3 separate regions of the Homo sapiens genome follow, and regions 2 and 3 are each linked to region 1. Evidence: promoter capture Hi-C in human tissues and cell types (Jung and others, 2019). All regions are on one chromosome and are shown on one strand. Each heading gives the region's core, a stretch centred on a gene start or on the middle of the fragment in contact. The rest is flanking DNA. Distances are from core to core; before and after follow the strand shown.

Region 1 (5,120 bases), core at 1,850-4,349:
AGTTGTCCTGAAGTGATGGGGGTATTAAGAAGTCCTTCCCTACAGGACATACTTTTAGTTATAGTGGAATTAACTCGCAAGGTAAAATTTTTCTACTTAACTCCTGTAAGTCTCAGTTTCTTATCTATAATTATAATAATTACTTACATTTATTGAGTGCTTACTGTGTGCCAGGCACTATTCAAAGCATTTTATGTGTAGTAATCTGTTTAATTCTTATGATAGCTGTATGAAGTGGGATCTGTTACTATATATAAATTAGAAATATGACACATAACCAGCTTTCAGGGGTTTTTCACAATGATCCCATAATGTAGGGCTTATGAAAACCTTGGGCATCCTTCCCACTTAATGACAGACTTGATGCAGCTCAGGTTTAAAGAATAAATTTGGATTAATGAGAGAATGAAGTACAATATGGATAGTGAAATTACCCTGTGAAAAGAAAATTTGGGTAATATAAATATTTGGCTAGAAATCAAATTTGAATTTTCTAAACAGAGCTTCCACTGACCTCTAATGAACTGGCATATTCTGAGGAAAGACGAAAGAAGTCATCCTACGCTTGCACTGGTTTCTCCTGCCTGACACCTAAACTGCAAAGTATGTCGATCACTACTTCTGATTCCCTTTCATTTTTCTATTTATTCATTCATTCAATCAATCAATCAATCAACAAATACTTATTACATACCTGCTATGTGCCAGTCCTTGGCATAAGCACTAAGTATCAATGGTGAACATTACATACTCCCTGCTCTCCTGTAGCTTAAAGCCAAACAGGGAAGACAGACACTAATCGACCTGTACATGAATAGATAACTACAGAGATTTTGCAACATGGTTTGAAGAGCATTTGAAAAATGCTTCCTGAAGAAATGAGACTTAGACTGGGAGGTAGAAAAGAAACCAGAAAGGTGTGGCAACATTAACAATATGAGAGATAGTTATAGGAGTTTGCCAGATGGAAGTTACTAATGACCTTAGTGAAAGTTTTTTTGGTGTGTCTAAGGTGGAAACCAGACTGGGAGTGCCCTAAAGAGACAATGAGTGAGAGGTGAAGAAATGGAGACAGTAATGAAATAAAAAACTCTTTTAAGACATTTAATGGTGAAAAAGAGGTGAAGGGAATATATGCTGAAGAGGGAGGGTCAGAGGACAAAAATATAAACATAGTAGTTCAGCTTTCTGTTATCTCAGCTGCCCACATCCATCTCTACTTCCAGTGAAAATAGCATAGAAAAAAAGGTACTTGTCCCAAAGTGAGTGAGTGTGCTTGAAAAAGAACCAAAACTGCACTCCTATAGGAATATTCATTTGGTAACTTTAATATATGCAAACTAATAAAAGTTCTACCATTAAAAACCCATCCTTTGGACAAGGCAGCAGCTTTATAAAATATAATATAATGACTCATTTACAATGAAACTTTACCTGTGTTTCAATTAGAAATATATTTTTAAATAATATTTTTCCAGATACACTGAACTAATACTGTATCATTAGGCTAAACACATATTGATTCAAACTTATTATCTCAAAATTCTGTTATATGAACAAATCTGTGTGCTAATGGGGCACACTAACATTCAACTAAAGTGAATTGTATAGACCCATAGCATTTCACTGGATGATTAAATTAAATGTTTAGAGAGAAAATTAAATCTTTCAAGTCACTAGCAGATTATTCTTGCCCTGAAAATCAGCTGATGCCGTTGCTGCTGTGAATAAAACAGGCATTTGTAACACGGTAAAAAACTAAAAGAATAACATGGGGATAACATTTAAAGATTTCTATTCCCCCTTGAAGCCATTTCTATCAATATAGTTTGTAGACATCTATTTTTACTGTCATCAAAAAGTCTCTCACATTCACATTAATTTTATAAGGAAGCACGTTACTATTACTACTACTTTATTTATAGAAAAAGATTACTCTGCACTGTAACTAAATTGGCTATTTTAAAACTTAAAAAATTAATAGGATTCTGTTAAGTACCTAACACTACATCCATAGTCACCTTCATCTGAAAGCCATGAAGAGACTGATTCCAGGTGTTAAATGATTGAGCCACAGAAATTGATCCAAGTATTCTGCTACTGTTTCCTTTGACATCCTCCCCTCTGGCTACTGTCTACGAAGAAAGTAATTAGAAAACAGCATGTCTAATAAACTAACAGGCAAGTCATTGTTGATCAGATATGGAAACCACATTCTAAGAAAACGAAAGGAAGCCGAGCCGCACACCTGATTTTGTTATGTGAGACCCAATGACAAAAAAAAAAAAAAAAAAAAAAACCCAGATTACAAGCTGTTCAAGTAAGTTTGGGTGCTGATTTTCTTTTTCAAAACCTGAGCAGAAGAAAAACGTCAGGGTTGTTTGGAAGCACCGAATTACAAGATCCTGAATAAGCTGCTTCATCAGACAGACAGCTAGAAAATCCTATTTGCAAAATAGCTCCCACCAGCTTCTTTTATGTCCGAAGTGAGACTCAGTTTTTGGCTAGAAGATACACTCCTGTCAGCGGTAAGGAAGAGGAATGGTGTCTCTCCCCCTTTTCAGAAACACCAATCCCTGGATGAATGGACAACAGGAGCTCAATCTCACAGACGCAGGACTGACCCGAGTACAGTCACCGTCTCTCTCCCAACCCTGAGGGACAATCCCTTTGTGGCACCTGGGGAAGAGAGTATCCAGACAGCTGGTCGGAGTCTGGCAGCGCGGGCAGCAGTGCGGCGGCCACGGCTCCCGGCGAGAAGGTGTGTAAGGTAGGCTGGGTGAAGCGCCCAGGAGCGGAGGGGACAGCGCTGCACCCTCGCTAAGTCTCGCCGCGCTGGGCGCGTATCTGGGGTCCCCAGAAGCCAGCAGAGAGAGACTTGCGACCGGGGCTGAGCAGGAAGTGGGCAGAGCCCCTTCCCCCGCTGCCGTTACCTGCAGCAGCCGAAGCGCAGCCGCTGGCTCTTGCTGGATCCGCAAGTCGGCTACCGACTGGACAGCAGCTACTGCTTCCACTGCCTGCACCTGCCGCTCAGCAGATCCCTCTTTGCACAGGGCACCCCACCCCGGGAATCCCAACGCCAGGAGCCATCCGTGGCCATGGCGGGGGCTTCTCGGCACCCGACTGGGACGCCCCGGCAGCTCCTTGTGGCGCTCGCCTGCCTGCTCTTGAGTCGCCCCGCGCTGCAGGGACGGGCATCCTCACTTGGGACCGAGCCCGACCCGGCGCTTTACCTGCCCGCCCGGGGTGCGCTTGACGGCACTCGCCCCGACGGCCCCAGCGTGCTGATTGCCAACCCTGGACTCCGGGTGCCCCTGGGTCGTTCCCTTTGGCTCGACCCGCTCCGGGATCTGGTGATTGGAGTGCAGCCGGGGGACCGGTGCGAAGTCACGGTACTGGACGCCCTGCCGCGGCTCAAGGGCGCGCTCTCCCCGCGCCGCTTCCCCTGCACCTTCGGGCCCCGCCAAGTCCAGTACACTCACTTCGGCTCCCACAGCCCCGGACGCGCCCGGGTGCTGCTGCAGCTGCGCTACGACGCCCCGACTCACACTCTGGTGCTGCCCTTCACGCTGGCGGTGGACTTGGTCTTCTCCCAGCTGGAGCTGGTGACGCGTAACAGGCCTTTGGTAGTGGAGAAGCTGCGAAGCTGGAGCCGCGCCATAGACAGGAGAGTGCTGGACTTCGCCTCCCTGAAGTCTGGAGCCACGGCCACCCGCAGGTGCCGGCTTACCCCACTTCCTCACGAGGACGGCCCCCTGCCCAAGTACGGGCGCTTGGTGGACGCGGTGGGGGCCCCTCTCCCCAGGGGCAAGGGCGTAGACTGTGAGGCTTTCCTCCGTGCTGGGGTGCGCTATCAGCACACAGCCACCTCCTCGCCCAACCGTGACTACGTGCCCATGATGGTGGAGCTGCTGGGGCCTGAGGGCCAAGACGCTGGGTCCGCGGGTGTGCTGGTCCGCGAGCACTTCCAGCTGCTCGTGAGGATCCGCGGCGGAGCCGAGAACACACCGCCCAGGCCCAGCTTCATGGCCACGATGATGATGGAGGTGGATCCACTGGTGCTGACAGCCCTGACGCCTGACGCACTGGCCGCGGAGGACGTCGAGTCAGACCCTGGTGACCTGGTGTTCAACATTCTGAACGCCCCCACTCACCCACCAGGGCACCCGGGGCAACAGGGCTACGTGGTCAGCACCGACGACCCTCTAGGGCTTCCAGTCTCCTTCTTCACCCAGCAGGAGCTGAGGGAGCTGAAGATTGCCTATCAGCCCCCTGCAGAGAACTCCCATGGGGAGCGCCTCTTTCAGCTGGAGCTGGAGGTGGTGGACGGAGACGGCGCCGCCTCAGACCCCTTTGCCTTCATGGTGACAGTGAAATCCATGAATACTCTGGTCCCAGTGGCTAGCCATAACAGGGGACTTGTGCTTTTTGAAGGTCAGTCAAGGCCCTTGTCCAGCACCCACAGCATTCCTATCAGTGATAAAGATAACCTGGAAGAGGTGAAAATGGCTGCAGTCAGGGGCTTGAGACATGGGCAGCTGGTGGTGTTTGGGGCACCTGCTGGGTGCAAGTATTTCACACCAGCGGACCTGGCAGCAGGGCGAGTGGTGTATCAGCATGATGGCAGCAACACCTACAGTGACAATATCATCTTCCGGATGGAGGACGGGCACCACCAAGTGGACTTCCTCTTTCCCCTCACCATCCTACCTGTGGATGATGAACCACCAATGGTCAATACTAACACAGGACTCTCACTCACTGAAGGGCAGGTGGTCCAGATCTCTCCCTTTGTACTGAGTGCTACTGATATTGACTCTGAGGACTCAACCATCCACTTTGTGCTGGAGAACCAGCCCCTAAAAGGAAATGAGGAAGAGCCTCAGTGGGAGTTGGCCCCTGGTTCCTCCCACTCAGGCCACTACCTGGGGGACCTGTTGCTGCAGCAGGCTGAACTACCTCTCTCAACTGAAGATGAAGACTGGCACTACATGGAAAAGGAAGGGCTTTATGAGAAAGTGGTGACTGAGTGGCTACAGAGAGACATAATGGAAGGGAGACTCTTCTACCGCCATCTTGGACCACACAGCCCTCAATCTGTAATGGTCCAGCTGGCTTTC
Region 2 (5,120 bases), core at 963-3,462, 160 kb after region 1:
TTCAAATAAACGTGGAGGAAAGAACTGGAAATCCTGAACATTGGGTTGTTTTGGAGGTCGAGGAGCCTAAAGAAAAACAAAAATAAGTGTTATCCATAAAAAAGAAATTTCATTTTAAATGTATCCTTAGTCCTCACTTCATAAACCACAACAGCCAATTCTGCAAGCAACTGAATGCATCTTTCAATAAAACTGAATTTATATCTTAATTTTAAATGCACAGATTCAAAATTAATTTTTGAAAAATGTTAACTAAAAACAGAAGAGAGTACACTCTAAAGAAATGCAAAATGTAGGAAAGAGGCAGTGGCTCACGCCTGTAATCCCAATACTTTGGGAGACCAAGGTGGGCGGATCATGAGGTCAAGAGATCAAGACCATCCTGGCCAACATGGTGAAACCCCATCACTACTAAAATTACAAAAATTAGCCAGGGGTGGTGGTGGGTGCCTGTAGTCCCAGCTACTCGGAAGGGTGAGGCAGGAGAATTGCTTGAACCCGGGAGGCGGAGGTTGCAGTGAGCTGAGATCGCACCACTGAACTCCTGGTAACAGAGTGAGACTCTGTCTCAAAAAAAAAAAAAAAAAAGAAACACAAAATCTAATTATCAATCTTTTTGCAAGAATATATGAAAAAAATTACATTTTCAAAATTTTTAGATATTTTTATGCTGTGTCAGTCAACTCACCTTGGGTGCTTTAGGTTCACTAACACGAAGAGCTTCCCTGAAATATGCATCAACGGCATAGTTGGCTTTTCTTTCTCGTTTAGGTGGTTCAATCCACTCTGTGAATGCAATCTAGCACATGGGAAACAACTCAAATCACCAACTTTTATTATACACAGTAACAAATCATCATCAAGAAGGATGTTTGTAAATGTAAAGATATTCACAAAATCCTGGGCTATAAGCTCTATGAGGGTGGAGACTATGATACTTTGCTCAATATTATGTATATAATTAACACGAGACAGTGTCTAGTCAACAGAGTAAGCATTCAGTATTTCTTGCTTAAAGGAACAACTGTTAAATGAGGGAGAAATGCTACAGAATGTTTGGTATAAATCTAAACTAGGAGAAAAATGTAGACACATAATTAGCCTACAAAAAATTCTGAAGATATAGACCTAAATATTAACAAGAAAAACACTGGGTAGAATTATTTTTTTCTTCTAATCTCTGGGTATTTTTCAATTTATCTCTATATTACCAAGTATTACTTATGAAGTTAAGAAATTTTTCCCTTTATTACCAGCCAATTCTGCTGTTTAAAATAAAATGAATCAGGTTACCATCCCAAATTACTATTCATCCCATACAAGAATATATTTCACTGTAAACATATACCACAAACTTCATTACAAAAACTTTAAAAATATTTCAGAGCTTACCAACTGAAAAACTGGCATTAAATTTTACATAATGATGAAAATATTCAGATGTGAATAAGCAAAAATGACTACTGTTTTAAGCAAAATTATAAGACATTACAGTAACACTTAAAATTCCAAGTTTCCAGTAAAATAAAGCTTTCATGTAACCCAAACCTATTTCTAAATTACCTTTTGTTTTTCTCTATAGTCTTCTCCTTCGAAGTTATAAACACTTGACTCTGTATCCATTGTAAAGTTTCTAAGTGAACTTTCGCCCATCTTGGAGAGCTTTTCATTCATCTCTGCAGTCTAGAGAACAAAACAATCAGCTTCTTAGATTCACAGCAAAGAAAGCATGAAAACTGCAGTCAAAATAAATTAACTTCACGTACACAAAAGCTTCTCTTTAAGGAAATAAAATTATTTATCATCAATGTAACAAATATTTCCTGTTTCTGGTCTAAAACATTCTATATTAAAAGCATTATTTAATCTACATCTCACCTTCTTTGCACCTCTTTCCAAAATACCATCGATATCTTCATCAGTGATCTCACTTTCCTTTGAAGCAAACACATGTGTTGCTCCATGTCTAATCATTTGAAGCATTTCATCTTTCCCAATTTTGTTCAGATTCTGATCCACAAGCCTCCCTGAAAAAAGATTGTGTTGTATAATGTTAACTGAACAGACTTTATTTTACTGGAAACTTGAAACTTTAAATGTAAGGTTTAATGCTTTATAATTTTATCTCAAATGTCAATCATTTCTGTTTACTGTTTATTCACATCTAATAATTTTGATTTTTGCACTAAATTTAATGCCAAATTTTCAGTTGGTAAGCTACAAAACATTCCTAAACCTTATGTATTATATAATGAAACCTGCTGTATACTGTGCCAACGAAATATAATCTTTTGTGAAAGCTGCATATGAAAAATTTTCAAAAACCTACAAGTTTCAACAGATGGAAGCATTATACACACAAGTTTCTGATGAGCAGAAAGGTGTTATTAACTAATACTCCCCAAATCAGCTTTTCTCCTTAGAAAAGTAAAGTAAAAAATCCTTCACCTAGGCCAAACTTTACACAGAACTGAAATATGTAACATCAGTTTCTTTTTAAAGAAAACTTCCAGAAGAACTGAAACTCCTAAAAACTTATTTTATTCGTTTATTTTTTTGAGATGGAGTCTTGCTCTGTTGCTTAGGCTGGAGTGCAATGACAGGACCATAGTCACTGCAGCCTTCAACTCCCTGCTCAAGCCATTCTCCTGTCTCAGCTTCCCAAGTAGCTAGGACTAAAGGCATGCACTACCACACCTGGTGAGAAAATGTATCTGGATCATCGAAGAAACTCACCATTAATAAATTAATAAATATTTTCAGTTGGCAGGAGTTTGGACAACCTTGTAATTTTTCAAAAATACAGGTATAAAAAAACAAACAAAAACCCAGAAAGACTTGTTTTCACCCTCCTCAAGGGTCACTCACATACACCTAAACAAAGCTTTGATTTTTATATGCCAACCAACTTGTAAGTAAGTGGAAAAAGATCCAAGTTTTCAACAACTTCTTTAAATACTTGTATCATGGTTTGGGACCCATAATAGGATATACAGCCAAACATCCATGACTTTGTAAGTGAGGAGATATCCACAAGGTATGTTTCCTTGGATTGGATGCTACCATTGCTACCAAAATGTTCTTATGCTTATACAAACTACTTCCAAGTTGGGCAGGAAGGTTCCGGAACCTTCAGATGTAAAGTGCTTGTGTACTCTCGTTTTTAATTATGTCCCTCAAATAAAAAACAGTAACACAAAGGTATGCACTTAAGGCTTGCTGTTTGACTAACATGTCTACAAACGGCACAAGAAAGCTATTAGCCTGAAGGTTTGCTCCAAAAATTGCCACAGTAAATATGAAGTAAAAAAACCTCAAGATTTCTAAATTAATTATGAATCAATTAAGGTCTTTTTTATCTTTAAAAAAAGTGTTTTGGACAGGCGTGGTGGCTCATACCTGTAATCCAGCACTTTGGGAGGCTGAGGTGGGTGGATCGCCTGAGGTCAGGAGTTCAAGACCAGCCTGGCCAACAAAGTGAAACCCTGTCTCTACTAAAAATACAAAAAAATTAGCCAGGTGTGGTGGCGGGCATCTGTAAATCCAGCTACTCAGGAGGCTGAGGCAGCAGAATTGCTTGAACCCAGGAAGCGGAGGTTGCAGTGAGCCGAGATCGTGCCATTGCACTCCAGCCTGAGTAACAAGAACAAAACTCCATCTCAAAAAAAAAAAAAGTGTTTCATGGATGAAAATAACTGAGAACAAGAAACACACGGCAGGTGTATTTCAAAACACATGGATGTGTGAAGAAAAATAAAACATTAGCCATTATATCACCCATGAGATAACATCACGGGGTGGCAGCCTCGAGAAGTCCCCAGAGACTTTTCTAATTAAACACTTAAGAGTTAACAAAGTTCTTGATCCCCCTTGAGTCACTTCCCAGCTGTATGTACAATGAACAAGTAATTTAACCTCTCAAAAGCCTTTATCTCTGATGCTAACATCTCAAGTTGGCATGAAGACTAAAGGAGAAAATGAAATGTTAAGTATATAGCACACTGCCTGGCACAAAGTAAACACTTTATTAAGGGAAACGATTTGTAAAAATAAGCAATAATTTATTGTCTTCAGGTATGCAGACATATGGCTAACACTATGAATAGCATTAGGGATACCAAAGACATGTACAATACTCTCTTACATGGACATCAGAGACTGACAAAATCAAGATACCTACATAATCAGTAAACAATGTAACAGTATGCCTTTCAGCTTTATAGACAGATAGTAAATACATGCTCACAAATGCAGTTACAAAGGAAACCAATGCACACTTGAAATTATTAAGTTTCCCACCCCTTTTCTTGAATTTTATATTTCCCATCATCAACTTTATAGTAGGCTTCATGAAAACATAAATTATGTCATCCTTAAAAGCTGATCTGGAATGAGAACTTAAGTTTCCTTCAATTGATCCAAAATAAAATCCCACTCTCACCCCCTACTCCTACTTATACCCTTGTTTACTTCATCTCTCCCTCCCAACTAAATTGTAAACTCTTTGAAAGTAAGAATACTTGTTTGTTCCATTTACCACTGAATTCTCAGCACCAAGAACGGTGCCTAGCATCTGGTGGGTACTCAGTAAATTGCAGACAAGAAAAAAGAATAAAATCAGGCTCTTTGATTTTTATTTCTTCAGTTTTCCCCACAGTAATCAAGAGTAGTTAGTACATATAAATCATTAACCACCACACTGAATGTCAGATATTTTATATACATTATCCCCTTTAATCCTTTAAAATCCTTAAGTGTAGTTATTTTTATCCCCACTTAACAGATGAGGAAATGGGTTCATGTAACCAGAGAGAACTGCTAACTGGCAGACTCATTATTCAAACCTCAACTGTCCTGAGCCCAAATCCATCTTTTTAATGACAAAACTAAAGTTTACTGTATTTGCAATACAAGTCATCTCTACTGGCTGCAAGCTTGACTCAATGGATGCTTAGTAACAAGAATCTTCTAAGACGATTTTCAAACAAAAACAGGTTGTGTCAATCCAACTTGGTAAAGTTTTAAAGTTCCATGGCTTACCTTGTTGAATGACTATTGAATCCAGTCTGAGTTTCATCTCAGCACGTTCTACTATTCTTTCTTCTACAGTGTTATCAGTT
Region 3 (5,120 bases), core at 1,237-3,736, 130 kb after region 1:
AACTATTCTCATGGTAGTGAATAAGTCTTACAAGATCTGGTGGTTTTATAAACGGGAGTTCCCTTGCACAAATTCTCTTGCCTGTTGCCATGTAAGACATGAATTTGCTCCTCATTAGCCTTCCGCCATGATTGTCAGGCCTTCCCAGACATGTGGAACCGTGAGTCCATTAAACCCCTTCCTTCATAAATTACCCGGTCTCAGGTATGTCTTCATTAGTAGCATGAGAATGGACTAATACAGTAGTAAAGCTGTCTGATGGGCTCAAGTGTAAAAGTCAAATGGATAGCCTCACCTGATCCAGAAGTATCACTGCTGACATCTACCTATGAGCATTAACATGAGCCCAAAGTTTCCCTATATCCTCCTTTGGGGCAAATAAGAAGCAGGTTAGACAGCTGTAGAAGAGAAAAAAGACATACAGCCAAATGTGTAAAGCTTTGAAAACTGCTGTCTTAGTCCATTTGTGTTGCTATAAAGGAACACCTGAGGCTGGGTAATTTATAAAGAAAAGTTTATTTGGCTCACAATTCTGCAGGCTGTACAGGAAGCATGGCACCAGCATCTGTTTCTGGTGAGGCTTCAGGAAGCTTTCAATCATGGCAGAAGGTGAAGGGGAGCTGGTGTGTCACATGGCAAGAAAGGAAAAAGGGGGATGAAGGTGCCACACTCTTTTAAACAACAAGTTCTCCTGTGAACAAACAGAACAAGAACTCATTCATTCTGTAAGAAATGCACCAAGCCATTCTTGAGGTATCCACCTCACAACCCAGACACCTCCAGCCAAGCCCTGCCTTCAGCACTGGGGACCAAATTTAAACATGAGATTTGGAGGGAACAAATACCCAAACTATATCATTCTACCCCTTCCCTCCCAAATCTAATGATCTTCTCACACTGCAAAAAAGAATCATCCCTTCCCAATAGTCCCCCAAAATTTTAACTCATTCCAAGCATCAGCTCAAAAGTCCAATCTGAGACTGAGCATGGTGGCTCACACCTGTAATTCCAGCACTTTGAGAAGCCAAGGTGGGCAGATCACTTGAGGTCAGGAGTTCGAGACCAGCCTGGGCAACATGGTGAAATCTGTCTCTACTAAAAATATAAAAATTAGTGAGGTGTGGTGGCACACACCTGTAATTGCAGCTACTTGAGAGGCTGAGGCAAGAGAATCACTTGAACCTGGGAGGCAGAGGCTTCAATGAGCTGAGATCATGCCACTGCACTCCAGCCTGGGTGACCAAGTGAGACCCTTAACTCAAAAGAAAAAAAAAAAAAAAAAAAAAAAGGTCCAAAAGGTCCAATCTGAGACTCAAGGAAAGTTCCTTCCATCTATAAGCCTGTAAGATCAAAAACAAGTTATGAGAATTAAAAACAAAAATTATGTGATCATCTCAACAGATGCAGAAAAAGCATTTGACAAAACCCAGCATCCCTTTATGATCAAAACCCTCAGCAAAATCGGCATGAAAGGGACATAGCTCAAGGTAATAAAAGCCATCTATTATAAACCCATAGCCAACATTATACTGAAAGGGGAAAAGTTGAAATCATTCCGCCTGAGAACTGGAACAAGACAAAGATGCCTACTTTCACCATTTCTATTCAACATAGTACTGTAAGTCTAGCCAGAGGAATCAGACAAGAGAAATAAATAAAGGGCATCCAAATTGGTAAAGAGGAAGTCAAGCTGTCACTGTTCACCAATGATATGATCATATACTTAAAAAATCCTAAAGACTCATGCAGAAACCTCCTAGATCTGATCAATGAATTCAGTAAAGTTTCAGGATAGAAAATCAATACACACAAATCAGTACCACTGCTATACACCAACAATGACCAAGCTGAGAATCAAATCAAGAACTCAACCCCCTTTACAACAGCCACAAAAAAAATAAAATAAAATACTTAGGAATATACCTACCAAGGAGATGAAAGATCTCTACGAGGAAAAACTACAAAACACTGCTAAAAGAAATTGTGGATGATACAAACAAATGGAAACACATTCCATGCTCATGGATTTGAAGAATCAATATTGTGAAAATAACCATACTGCCGAAAGCAATTTACAAATTCAATGCAATTCCCATAGAAATACCATCATCATTCTTCACAGAACTACAAAAAACAATCCTAAAATTCATATGGAACCAAAAAAGAGCCCACATAGCCAAAGCAAGACTAAGCAAAAAGAACAGATCTGGAGGTATCACATTACCTGATTTCAAACTATAGTACAAGGCTATAGTTACCAAAACAGCATGGTAGTGGTATAAAAATAGGCTCATAGACCAGTGGAATGGAATAGAGAACCCAGAAATAAAGCCAAATACTTACAGCCAACTGATCTTCGACAAAGCAAACAAAAACATAAAGTGGGGAAAGGACACCCTATTCAACAAATGGTGCTAGGATAATTAGCAAGCCACAAGTAGGAGAATGAAACTGGATCCTTATCTCTCACCTTATGCAAAAATTAACTCAAGATTGATCAAGAACTTAAATCTGGCCAGCTGTGGTGTCTCACGCCTGTAATCCCAGCACTTTGGGAGGCCAAGGCAGGCGGATCACGAGGTCAGGAGATCGAGACCATCCTGGCTAACACAGTGAAACCCCGTCTCTACTAAAAAATCCAAAAAATTAGCTGGGCATGGTGGCAGGTGCCTGTAGTCCCAGCTACTAGGGAGGCTGAGGCAGGAGAATGGCATGAATCTGGGAGGTGGAGCTTGCAGCGAGCAGAGATCGCGCCACTGCACTCCAGCCTGGGTGACAGAGCGAGACTCCATCTCAAGAAAAAAAAAAGAACTTAAATCTAAGACCTGAAATCATAAAAATTCTAGAAAATACATCGAAAAACTCTTCTAGACATTGGCTTAAGCCAAGATCCCAAAAGCAAATGCAACAAATAGAAAGATAAATAGGCAGGACCTAATTAAACTAAAAAACTTCTGCACAGCAAAAGAAATAGCAGAGTAAACAGACAGCCCCAAGGGAAAAAAGACAAATACTCCTATCAAAGAGTGGACTAAGGATATGAATAGACAATTCTCAAAAGAAGACATGCAAATGGCCAACATCGGAAAAATTGTTCAGCATCACTAATGATCAGGCAAATGCAAATCAAAACCACAATGCGATACCACCTTACTCCCACAAGAATGGCCATAATTAAAAAATCAAAAAATAACAGATGTTGGTGTGGATGTGGTGAAAAGTAGAACTGCTGTTTGATCCAGCAATCCCAGTCTTGGGTATCTACTTAGAGGAAAAGAAATCATTATATGAAAAAGACACTTGCACATGCATGTTTATAGCAGCACAATTCACAACTGCAAAAATATGGAACTAGCCTAAATGCCCATCAACCAATGAGTGGATAAAGAAAATGTGGTATATAGATACCATGGAATGCTACTCAGCCATAAAAAGGAATGAAATAATGGCATTCACAGCAACCTGGAAAGAGACCATAATTCTAAGTGAAGTAACTCAGGAATGGAAAAACAAACATCGTATGTTCGTATGTTGTAAATGAGAGCTAAGCTACGAGGATGCAAAGGCATATATAAGAGTGACATAATGGACTCTGGGGACTTGGGGGAAGGGTTGCGGGGGTGGTGAGGGATAAAAGAGTACACATTGGGTACAGTGTACACTGCTTGGGTGACAGGTGCACAAAAATCTCAGAAATCATCACCAAAGAACTTTTTCATCCAACCAACCAGCACCTGTTCCTCCAAAACTATTGAAATAAAAAAAAAAAAAAACAGGCTGAGCATGGTGGCTCACACCTGTAATCCCAGCACTGTGGGAGGCCAAGGTGGGTGGATCACGAGGTCAGGAGTTCGAGACAAGCCTGATCACCATGATGAAACCCTGTCTCTACAAAAACAAAAAACAAACAGAAACAAGTAGTATCTGTTGATATTGTAAAGAGCAAATCAAACTACTGTTATAGCACATGTGGTTTTCTAATGAGAAAATGCTTATAAAGTATGTCTAGAGGGGAAAATCCTGCTCACTTAAATAGGATAAATTATATCTTCCAGAGGTCCTAATAAGAGTGAGTGAAGAACAATGAGTCAGGGACCCCAAGAAGATACTGAGTTATAATTACCATGTCCATATTAACAACATAAAAGAAAACTTATAATTTAGATGACTAATAAGGCCTTTCATTCTTTCCTACCACTTTCAGGTTTCTCTTACTGTTTCCGGGGTGTTAGTGTTGAAAATAATGATTCTTAGGCACTTTTACAGAATAGCAATATTTAGTAACCACGATTTGGTATAAAAGGATATCAGGTTAATTTATATACAATTTTGCAAGAAAAGTGTGGTAACTTACTGATCTTTTTCTGAAACATACACGAGCCACAAGAAATGCTAACAATTCTGTATAGTATAGCAGTTCGCCTCTCAGTTGTGTCTTATGCACTGCCATGTTTATACATGGGATCCTAACCTTTTAGACTGAAATACATTTAAAAAGTTATAATCTTCAGGTCTCAGAAACAACATATTTAGTTTATATATTTTCTTTCCATTAAGAAAAGGTTTAGCATTTGAGTAAGAACATGACACATTCTGCTTTCTTAATATCATATTGTCTTTAGCATATAACCACCTTTAGATTAAAAACCTGGAGGAAAATGGTTATTTGCCAAAAAATAATTTTCTTCCCTCAACATTTAGGTGAAAACACAAGGCACAAAGTGAAATACAGCCTGGAAGAATATTTATAGAAAGACAGAATTGTATAGAAAGGTATAGAAAGACAGAATTGCCTGACATAAAAATTATTTTAGAATATAAAACATAATTTTAGAAAATGATAAATATGATGGGGTATAATTATTTATTCATAATTCTGGAAAAGTAATAAAAATACATTCACTATATTTAACCAAAAGCATAAACATTCTTTTAAAAAGTAGTACTTGTTATTCATTATGTGCCTTTTTAAACTAATTCAATTATCTTTACTGTATATGATTTTCTCTATATAGATTTCTATTCTGTATGTTACATTCTATTTTTTACTTACAAGCAAATCATTTTTTAAACTCAAATGTGTTAACTCTCTTGAAGTCATGTGCTATCAATAAATAATA

The links. The method cuts DNA at HindIII sites, captures the fragments that hold promoters and counts their contacts. A contact is called where the count stands out against the background at its distance.
Region 2: a contact is called between a fragment that was not itself captured here and the fragment with the promoter of FREM3 in region 1, in 1 of the 25 tissues and cell types used here (H1 embryonic stem cells).
Region 3: a fragment that was not itself captured here is called in contact with the fragment with the promoter of FREM3 in region 1 in 1 of the 25 tissues and cell types used here (mesendoderm cells).

Annotation. Positions count from the first base shown.
Region 1 is chr4:143,698,654-143,703,773 of GRCh38, reverse strand. FREM3 (FRAS1 related extracellular matrix 3) reads left to right here and starts at 3,099. Exons shown (of 8, transcript NM_001168235.2): 1 at 3,099-5,120. The coding sequence starts at 3,099. RefSeq lists an enhancer at 3,075-3,732. The HindIII fragment of the contact is 26,872 bases long and covers 1-5,120 here.
Region 2 is chr4:143,540,416-143,545,535 of GRCh38, reverse strand. SMARCA5 (SNF2 related chromatin remodeling ATPase 5) reads right to left here. Exons shown (of 24, transcript NM_003601.4): 14 at 5,041-5,120; 15 at 1,879-2,027; 16 at 1,564-1,683; 17 at 689-799; 18 at 1-66. Among named protein-coding and RNA genes, the nearest start is that of SMARCA5-AS1, 28 kb to the right of the region's middle. The HindIII fragment of the contact is 3,394 bases long and covers 516-3,909 here.
Region 3 is chr4:143,563,661-143,568,780 of GRCh38, reverse strand. No RefSeq gene overlaps it. Among named protein-coding and RNA genes, the nearest start is that of SMARCA5-AS1, 51 kb to the right of the region's middle. The HindIII fragment of the contact is 3,943 bases long and covers 515-4,457 here.